Linked DNA regions of Homo sapiens: region 2 is linked to region 1. The links are contacts of gene promoters, found by promoter capture Hi-C in blood cells and fetal thymus (Javierre and others, 2016). All regions are on one chromosome and are shown on one strand. The core of a region is centred on a gene start or on the middle of the fragment in contact, and the rest is flanking DNA. Distances in the headings are between cores, read along the strand shown.

Region 1 (5,021 bases), core at 1,232-3,731:
ATGGGAACACCAAGGTCCTGTAGACGTAGGATAAGCAGAATTTAGGGCGTAGCTCCAACAATTCCCACAGAATATCCCACTACCTAGCTTACACATGACAACAACAGAGTTAAGGAAGTTCAGTGTGGAAAGGGGTAGGGACAAACAGCTAAGTTTACAAAAAGAAAAATCCCTCCCAGGCCAGCCAGGCTGAGAAGATAGGAGCACACAGCTGACCCACGTCACGCAGCTCACTGCCTCCAGCTGGAGCTCACAGGCTTGACCAGAGCATCAGAAACAGACGAGCAGTCTCCATGGCCCCAAGCGATGACCTCCCCAGTCCAATCTGTGTGCCGCTGGGGACCAAGACTCACCACCCCCTCAGTGAGGAAGTAGGGCACGGCAGAAAGAGGGTCCTCAGAGCCAGGAGAACTGAACTCTATGCCTCAATGGCACATCTGTAAAATGGGGCAATAGACTAGAGAGCTGGGACATAACCAGCGGACACATGAGCTCATATGTGATCAGCTCAACCCTGACAACAACCACGTGATGTATCATATGCTCAGCAATAAAATACCTTGCCTGCCATCACCTGGCAAGTAAATCCCAGAGCTGGGCCAGAGCTTTGTGCCTAATTACTATAATGATACTGCCATCGTCTCTCGCTTTCAAACCTGCGTTCTTTCAAAAGCTTACAAATAACTTGAGTACTAAACAAGTCCAATCCTGTTTTTAAAAGCACCACTTGAACTGATTCTGTAAGAAATCCTTTTGCAAAGTGAACCACCCATCTTGGAGATTCATTATCAATAGAACTTTCAGAGTCCCGGTGTGAGTGAGGCTCCCAGAAGCAGGTTACCCCCCTGGAAGGCTGGGCGGTGCCCTGCCTGGGCCTCCTCTTTCACTGGGAATCACCAAAAATCATGTTTGGGGGAATAATTAGATTTCTTCCCATTAATTACTCATCTACAAAACTTTCCAAAGTTAGCTTCCAGTTTTCATTTTCCAGAAGGAATGTCATCTCATGATAATCAGTTTAGGGGGTAATGCCACAACTTAATGATAATCTCCAGAAATGTGAGGCTGTAAAGCAAAACCCAGAAATTCACATTGGTACCTAGAAGGGGGTGGCCAGGACAACATACTTGACGAGGCCTGCTTTAAACCTAAGTCTGGACTCTTACACCATAGGAGACCACAGGAGACCCACCCCAAAAGCAGAACAATCAATCCCTGTAATCCCCTCTCTGCCAATCCCTACCCCCTCCTTTGCAACAGTTAGAGTAATAAAGTTTATAGTAATGAGTTTTATGCTTCTCTAGTGATGAAATTCCATCAGTGTCGGTAAAAATGAAACCGCAAAGGTGGCCAGCACCTGGGTTCCTGCCAGCCTTGAAGCCCCCGTCCCTCCCTCCCAGCAAACCAACCACGGCCTGCACTGTGGGTGCCTGTCACAGAGCTGATGTCCTCGCGGGTCATCCCTCATCCCCGCATCCAGACACCGGGTCATGTCCCTGTGCTTCCTGCCCACTAACTGGGAGGATGACGCAGCGGCGCCGGGAGTCCAGGGCTGATTGGGCCGGCGGTTCCCGGAGCCGAGCCCGCGAACTCACAGCATCACCACCACTGGGAGCTCCTTCGCAATGCAGATTCCCGGAGCTCCAGACCCCAGGCAGAAACGCGCCCGCGTCCATGCTCCACGAGCCCCCTTGGGGTGCCGATGCCCTGGGTTTTCGAATCTGGTCTGCACCCTCCCTGGTCTCCAAGAGAGGTTGAAACTGAGACTGAGTGTGATTTACCGGAGTCCGGACGTGAACCGAGAGACGGGGAGGTGTTGGGGGGGGGCGTCATAAAGAGCTCCCCAGTGCAGAGGGGGAGGCCTGGGGGAACATGGGGGAGACGTGCCGGGCGGCCCCCGCCCCCCCAGGACCCCCACTCACTGCCGGTAGGGGTCGTGGAAGGGCAGCGCCAGCCAGGCGCCATGCAGCTCGCGCATGAAGTCCAGCATCTCCTGGGAGCTGCCGTCGGCTGACACGAAGACCACTTCGAAGGGCGCGGGCCGCCGCGCCTCGGCCACCAGCGCCGTATAGAAGTCGCAGAGCAGCGGCGTGAAGTCGCGGCTCGGCGCGCACCGGGCCGCCGCGAAGTACAGTGCCACCACCTTGTTCTGCAGCGCCGCCTCGGCCTCCACCGTCGCGCCCTTACAGGTCACCAGGTGCCGCTCGCCCAGAATGTCAACCATGGCGCAGACACGCAGCCACCTGAGACCCGAGGACACCTGCAGGAGGATGATCACCTGCGGGGAGGCGGCGGCGAGCGCCGCGGTGCCCCGCCTCTGTCCGCACCACCGGGCGCTGGACCTCTCAAGACCTGCCCCAGATGCGCCCACACCTTGGCCAGGCCTCGCCTGTGGCTGGAGCAATTGTGTTCGCGCCGACAATGAGACACTCAGACACCAGAGACCCCAGATACCTGGGCGACAGCGCGGCACCCGCCTCTGGGAGCGGGGCCAGCCAGGCAACCTCAAGCCCTCAGGTCTCTGCACCCTCCCCCAACTGCGCCCCGCCCACACTCCTGCGCCCTCCCACCACTGCGCCCCGCCCACATTCCCCGCAAGCTCCCCAACTGCGCCCCGCCCACATTCCGCACTCTCCACCCACTGCGCCCCGCCCACATCCCGCACTCTCCACCCACTGCGCCCCGCCCACATCCCCGCCCCCGCCCCCACTGCGCCTCGCCCGCATCCCCACACTGTCCCCCACTGCGCTGGGCCCACATCCCTACACTCTCCACCCACTGCGCCCCGCCCACATCTCCGCACCCTCCCCCACCGCACCCCGCCCACATCCCCGCACTCTCCTCCAACTGCGCCTCGCCCACATTCCACAGTTTCCCCTCACTGCGCCCCGCCCACATCCCCGCACTCTTCTCCAACTGCGCCTCGCCCACATTCCACAGTTTCCCCTCACTGCGCCCCGCGCACACTCCCGCTCCCTCCCCCACTGCGCCCCGCCCACACTCCCGCGCCCTCCCCCTCACTGCGGCCCGCCGACATCCCGCGCCCCCGCCCCCATCCCGACTGCGCCCCGCCCACCTCCCGCGCCCTCTCCCACTGGTTGTCCAGCCCACATCCTGCACTCCCTCCACTGCGCCCCGCTCACACTCCCGCACCCTCCCCACACTGCGCCCTGCCCACACTCCTGCACTCTCTCCCCACTACGCCCCCTACCACATCCCGCGCCCCCGCCCCCATCCCCACTGCGCCCCGCCCACACTCCCGCGCCCTCGCGCCCCTGGGCTCTCCCGTCGTGGGCACTCTCCCCAGCGCTTCTACACTTTCTCCCGACGCAGCGCCCTGCCCTCCGTCCCGCCCCACCTATTGCCTCCTGCGCTTCCCCCACACCGTGCTCTTCCTCCTCCTTCACTTCCTCCCACTCCTCGCGCTCCCCTTCAGCGCCCCACGCAGCCCCTCCCCCAAAACCCCGCGTCGCTCTCCTTCCCTCCTGGCCTCTCTTCCAGTCTCGCGCTCCCTGCCGGGCCCCGCCGCAGGTGTCCCGCAGCCGTCTCCCCAGGGCATTTGAATCTTGCCTTGGAGCTCTTGCCGCGCGGCCCAGCACCCTGGAAGAGGCATCAGGGAGGATGGGACGACGAGGAAGGGGAAGGGTAATTGGGCTTGGAGCGGGCTTGGGCGGGGTGGTAGGGAACCTGAGCTCCGTTGGTTCAGGGTGTTTGCCCCTGACATCCTGTGGCCTGGCTGGGAGGGTTCGTGAAGTTCAGGAAGAAATTGGGAGCAGTCCTTACAGAATGTTTTATTTGAAGAACCAAGAGTATTAATTTTTTGGCGAGCACTGTTGTAGGCCCTGGGAATTCAGCAGTGAGAAAAATAATTTCAACTCCCTGCCAGACCCGGGCTAGAAGGAGGCAAGCGAGCGAGGCACTCGCATAGGGGCAAAATTTAAGGGCGCGACAAAAAAACTCAGTAGTCAAGGTAAATAATGTTTTAATACAATATCTTAAAAAGTCAAAATGAATGCAAAAAAAGTTTATAATGAACAAAATATCAAAAACTTAAAGACAGTGAATGAAACCAAAATATGCCATCCTAAAATATGCCGCTTTGGTATATTGATTATTTTGAGCGAGAGGCACTTGAAAAATAGCAAATGCAGAGAGACGTTCTCCCCTTACCTGTCTAAAGACGGAACCTCCAAAAGAAACTGATTGTCGTAAATTCCCTCCCGGGAGGATGGACTCTTATCACAGCAGAAGTCCACACCACACCTAGACAAACTTTGTCACAAACTCATAAAGACTTATGCATCTTTCCTAAAAATCAGTTACTCTCCCCTAAGTGGCCTACACCAGCTTCCAGTTCCCCAATTTTAGAAGCTCTCAAAGCTCACTGGTTTGGGGGGTTTTCACCTAGTTTCCTGCAATGCCCCCATGCAGGTGATATTAAAGATTAATAAATGTGTATTCCCGTTCCCCCCGTTCATCTGCCCGTTGGCAGTTAATTTCATAGAGCCAGCTATGGAACTGGGGAGGACAGAGAGAAGGTCTTTGCTCTCCTAAGACAAGATGGATCCCCCACTGACTTTGGACTCCCGTCACGTTCACCGACCCCTGAGTCCTGCTCCTGTGCCTGCCTGGAGCTTATGTTCTAACGGGCACAAACAATAAATAAGGAAGATATTTTGCAGGTGCTATGCCAAAAGAAGAGCCATGAGGAGGGGCGCAGGTTTTTGTTTTGTTTTATTTTGGTTTGGTTTGGTTGGTTGGTTGAGATGGAGTCTCGCTCTTGTTGCCCAGGCTGGAGTGCAATGGCGTGATCTCGGCTCACTGCAACCTCCGCCTCCCGGGTTCAAGCAATTCTCCCGCCTCAGCCTCCTGAGTAGCTGGGATTACTGGCGCGTGCCACCACGCCCAGCTAATTTTTGTATTTTTAGTAGAGACGGGGTTTCATCATGTTAGCCAGGCTGGTCTCAAACTCCTGACTTCAGGTGATCTACCCACCTCTGCCTCCCAAAGTGCTGGAATTA
Region 2 (5,021 bases), core at 889-3,388, 570 kb after region 1:
AGTGGCACAATCTCGGCTTACTGCAACCTCCGCCTCCTGGGTTCAAGTGATTCTCCTGCCTCAGCTTCCCGAGTAGCTGGGACTACAGGCGCGTGCCACCACACCTGGCTAATTTTTGTATTTTTACTCAAGACAGGGTTTCACCATGTTAGCCAGGATGGTCTTGATCTCCTGACCTCGTGATCTGCCTGCCCGGGCCTCTCAAAGTGCTGGGATTGTAGGCGTGAGCCACCATGCCCAGCCCCAGGCTCCCTTTATTTTTAAAATGTTTATTTTATGCTTCATGTGGATAAACTCTTCTGTGAGCACTCAGGGTGACTAACACTGCTACAGATGCTGGCCTTCAAGCACTTAGTGGAGAGAGAAAACATACTCAACCCTCGTTCTTGGCTTTCAGGAAAGTCTGATGTTTTCATGATATGGCCTCTGTTTATTTCTCCAGCCACATCTTCTGCAGACTGTAAGCTTCTAAGAGAACTTCAAAGAGAACTCTAAAATGTATATAACATTTGCAAGTAAAAGGAGAAAAAATGATTTATCGTGCATACACAAACCAAAAATCTGGTGTAGTTATTTGATATCAAATAACAGAGGCCGGGTGCAGTGGCTCATGCCTGTAATCCCAACACTTTGGGAGGCCAAAGTGGGCAGATCACCCGAGGTTGGGAGTTCGAGACCACCCTGGCCACCATGGTGAAATCCCATCTCTAATAAAAATACAAAAATTAGCCGGGTGTGATGGTGCATGCCTGTAATCCCAGCTACTTGGGAGACTGAGGCAGGAGAATCGCTTAAACCTGGGAGACAGAGGTTGCAGTGAGCCGAGATCGTGCCACTGCACTCCAGCCTTGGTGACAGACTTGTCTCAAAAAAAAAAAAAAAAAAAGAAAATAGATTTTAAGGCAAAGAGCTGTTATTTAATATAAGATACAATTTCAAGGCAAAAATCATTACTAGTGATAAACACATTCAGTTCTAATTATATTCAGTTCATTGGTAAAATTTTTCAAATTTGTACGTACCTAATCTCAAATATTATCAATATTAGAAATGAATAGGATTCAAAAGACTAAGGATATTAGAAGTAACTTTATACATGCGAAATTTTGGTAAAATTGACAAATCCATAGAAAAATTCGACTTGCAATAATAAAAAACAAACCCCTGAAGTGTCTTAAAACTGTTAAAAAGGAATTGAACCTCCAAATTAAAATATTTTCATTATGTAATCTCCAGGCCCAGATAGCTTCACTACTAAATTCTACCAGTCAATCACTTAATAAATGGACAGTGTCACGATTCCAGAGAATACAGGAGAAAGCTTACTCAGCTTATTTTGTGACACCAGCAGTAGTCTTGATACTAAAATTCAACAAGGACATTAGAAAAATGAAAATTATATAATGATTCTTGTGTTACCTTTCAAAAATAAAGGAAAAATCAGCCGGGTGTGATGGCTCATGCCTGTAATCTCAACACTTTGGGAGGCCGAGGTGGGAGGACTGCTTAAGTCCAGGAGTTTGAGACCAGCTTCGGCAATACGGCAAGACCCCATCTCTACAAAAAAAATTAGCCAGGTGTGGTGGCATGCGCCTGTAGTGCCAGCTACATGAGAGGCTGAGGTAGGAGGATCGCTTAAGACAGCAGTGAGCTGTGATCACACCACTGCACTCAGCTTGGGTGACGAAGAGTGAGACCATGCCTCCCCATAAGGGGTAGCCCCCACAAAACAGGAGTGTGGTCCTCCCTGACCCTTGCCTGGCCAGGCTCTTCCCAAGGCTGAGGCCCCTAGTGGCATGAGGGTCTCCAAAGAGCCTGGGGCCACAGGCCTTGCTCTGGGAGCCCCAGGAGCTCAGGGTCTGGCCAGCCTGTCCCCAGCCCAGGACAGACCACCAGTTGTTTGGTGGTTACTGCAATGGAATTCAGTCCCAAACCTCCCCATAGACCCTGACGTCAGGGCCCCTGGTTCCCACAGTACTGCTTCGGGCAGGAATGCTGGGCCCCCATCCCTTCAGCATCTGCCCTGGCTACCTCCCGGACCATGGACAGACTGGCCCTGCAACCCCACTGGGGCCCATCATCAACCCCTGCCTAGCTTTCTGAAGATCCACAGGAAGAGCCGAAGACACCTCCCCTTCACAGTGGCCCATGTCCTATCCCTGTCAGTTTCACTGACCTGCATGTTCTGGAAGGAGCCAGGACAGCAGCCTACCCCGCAAGCTGCCCAGAAGCCCCGGATGGCCCCTCAGCCAGCTGAAACCACCGTCCACTGGGAAGATGGCTACTTGGAGGCCTCTGGAGGGGAGGGGGTGTGGCATCCTCATAGCTCTGGCCAGCCAGCAGGATGTCTTGTGTCCTCATGCTGACCTCCTGTGGGACAGAACTCCCTAACACGGCACAAGGTCCAGATCCAGAGGGGTTTGATCTGGCCTCAACCCGAGCCTGGGGCCCCCAGCAGCCAAGGTGATCACCAAAGGGACTGAGCCACCTGTAGCTCTGACCAGTACTAGAATCTAGCCCAAGGTAGGGCGAGCCCTCTCAGAGCAGTGCATGGCTACTTGGGACCTGTGCAAACCCCAAAAGGCCAAGTCAGTGACCTTAGGGGGCCTGAATAGCAACCAGTCACCTTGGCGATGAGGCTGCAGGAGTAGGCAGGCCAGCCACCACCCTCATTCATACAAGGAGGCAGGGATGGCCAGGCTCCAGGACCTGAGTGGTCACCTGGTCACCCATGAGAAAGAGCCCTGAGGCCAAGCGTGGTGCTGGGCCCTCCTGCTCCAGGTGGTAGGACTGGAGGAAACTGGGCAGGCCTGGGCCCAGGAGACTGCGTCCCTCTATCTGCCATCCTTGGCAGGTCACGGTCCCCAAAACTCATGAAATGTGGCCTTACTCAAAGCAAGGAGGCTTCAAGGTGGGGACCAGAGTCCCCAGTCTTGGTTCACCATTCAAAGCTTCCCTCCTGGGGACAAGGGATGCTCCCCTGGCCTCATGCCCACCCCTCCCCACCCCCCACATATTGGTTAAAAGACGATAAATTGTTTATCATTATGACTCATCTGTTCTTGGGGCACCCAGAGTTGTCTGCAAGAAGCATCAGACACCCTGGAACAGGTGAGAGAAGAGGGTGGCACAGCCCATGCTGCCTGACCTGCCTCCCCCTTGCAAAGGCTATAGTAGGGCCTAGGGCCATACAGAGCCAAGGCTCCCATATACTTCATGTAAGACCATCAGGAGGCCTCAGGAAATCTGAAGCGGGGAGGTCAAAATTCTCTGATTGCCCACTCAAATGTCCTAATCCCACATCTCAGGGTCTTGCTCTTTCCCTATCTGGGCCTGACTTTTTAAAATTGCCATCGACCATGAGGCTGCTTCCCTTCCGCAAGCCAAACAAACCACCTACAACCATGCTCCTGCCAAGATGTACAAGAGAGGTTATACTAGAACCTAAGGAACAAGGGGGTCCCAAATTGGATGATCTCTGGGAAACCCGTGGGGCAGTTACAGTTCTTACTAGGGTCAGATTATGGTATCTCCTTCAAGCCATCCCCGCCTTCTGTGCCTGCCCCTGATCTCCACCAGTGGCAGGTACCCACCCTACACAGGGATTTGGTGATTGTGGAATCAGGTTCCCCTGAAAGACAATCACCCTATTCCATTAACTGTGGTTTGGGTTCCAAAAAATAAACACCACAGCCTGGCTCTGTTGGATGTGGATGCTCAAATCTCCCTAACCCAGGAAGCACTCATGCTTTAAAGGGACACTTCAAGGAGGTGACAGGCTTGGAAGGAAGATTAATAAGCCACTTAACTATTAAAGTTAGTCCCTAGGGCCGGGCATGGTGTCTCATGCCTGTAATCCCAACACTTTGGGAGGCCGAGGTGGGTGAATCACCTGAGGTCAGGAGTTTGAGACCAGCCTGGCCAACGTGGCAAAACCTTGTCTCTACTAAAAATACAAAAATTAGCTAGGTGTGGTGGCGTGTGCCTGTAATCCCAGCTACTCAGATGAGGCAGGAGAATTGCTTGAACCTGGGAGGCAGAGGTTGCAGTGAGCTGAGATTGTGCCACTGCATTCCAGCCTAGGCAACAGAGCAAGACTCCGTCTCTAAATAAATAAATAAATAAAGTTAGTTCCATTTTGCTAAGAAATACTTCTCTCTTGTTCCCACTACTGAATGGACCTCCTCAGTCAGCAGCAACAAGCCTAAGACTTTTACACTATTGGTGGGTGGGTTCCCTGTGGGAATCGGTCAGCCTTCCTCTATCCAGTTGAGGTGGTAGATACACCACTGTGCTGCCTAAGACAAGACACTGAAGGGTGCCAGCCTGTCGGGACTGACTTGGGTAAGAAGGGATGCTGATTCCTACCATCTCACCTTTCAGTTCCTTTAAGCCTGTGCTTAAAGCTGTTACTGATGACTGGACTTATTATAGATGATACAAAGCTAAACAATGCTGTTCTCTTCATTACAGCATCTCTACCAAATATTGTCACCTTAATGGATGACATTCAAAACAACATGGGTAAATGGTTTAGAGTTACTGCACAGACTTGGCTAACAGGTTTTATTCACTAAAATTTTTTCATGACAGCCAACCACAATTTGACTTAACCTTTGAGAGTCAACAGCACAGCTTTACCTGACTGCCTGCACTGTGGTGAAAGGCCTTTACTTACATCTGGACTTTGCTAAGAGGACCCCGATGCTTGCCCCACACTTCCCCCAAGAAACTTAGCTTTGGCATCATATCAGTGACATCCTCCTCACTGGTCCTGACCAAAACTTTGTTTCACAGGTCATCACAGCTGTGAGCAAGCACCCCACTGAGGGGATGGACAGTTGCCCCACATAAGGTGCAAGACCCCTCCTGACCTGTTAAAGTGTTGGGCTACACCTAGAACTCAGAGAGGTAAACTATTCCCAATTTGGCAAAAGAGAATCTCCTAGCTCTCCAACCTCCCACATCAATAAAGGGATTCAATCAACACTGGGATTCTGGCACCAATACATCCCTTCCTC

What was found. The method cuts DNA at HindIII sites, captures the fragments that hold promoters and counts their contacts. A CHiCAGO score of 5 or more calls a contact.
Region 2: a contact is called between a fragment that was not itself captured here and the fragment with the promoter of NXNL2 in region 1, in 2 of 17 cell types (erythroblasts and monocytes). The highest score is 5.2, in erythroblasts.

Annotation. Positions count from the first base shown.
Region 1 is chr9:88,532,638-88,537,658 of GRCh38, reverse strand. It overlaps NXNL2 (nucleoredoxin like 2), which reads right to left and starts at 2,481. Exons shown (of 2, transcript NM_001161625.2): 1 at 1,923-2,481. The coding sequence starts at 2,224. It overlaps LOC105376134 (a long non-coding RNA gene), which reads left to right and starts at 3,119. Exons shown (of 2, transcript XR_007061653.1): 1 at 3,119-3,645. RefSeq lists enhancers at 1,027-1,860, 1,861-2,695. The HindIII fragment of the contact is 6,313 bases long and covers 676-5,021 here.
Region 2 is chr9:87,961,330-87,966,350 of GRCh38, reverse strand. No RefSeq gene overlaps it. Among named protein-coding and RNA genes, the nearest start is that of CDK20, 11 kb to the left of the region's middle. The HindIII fragment of the contact is 1,630 bases long and covers 1,324-2,953 here.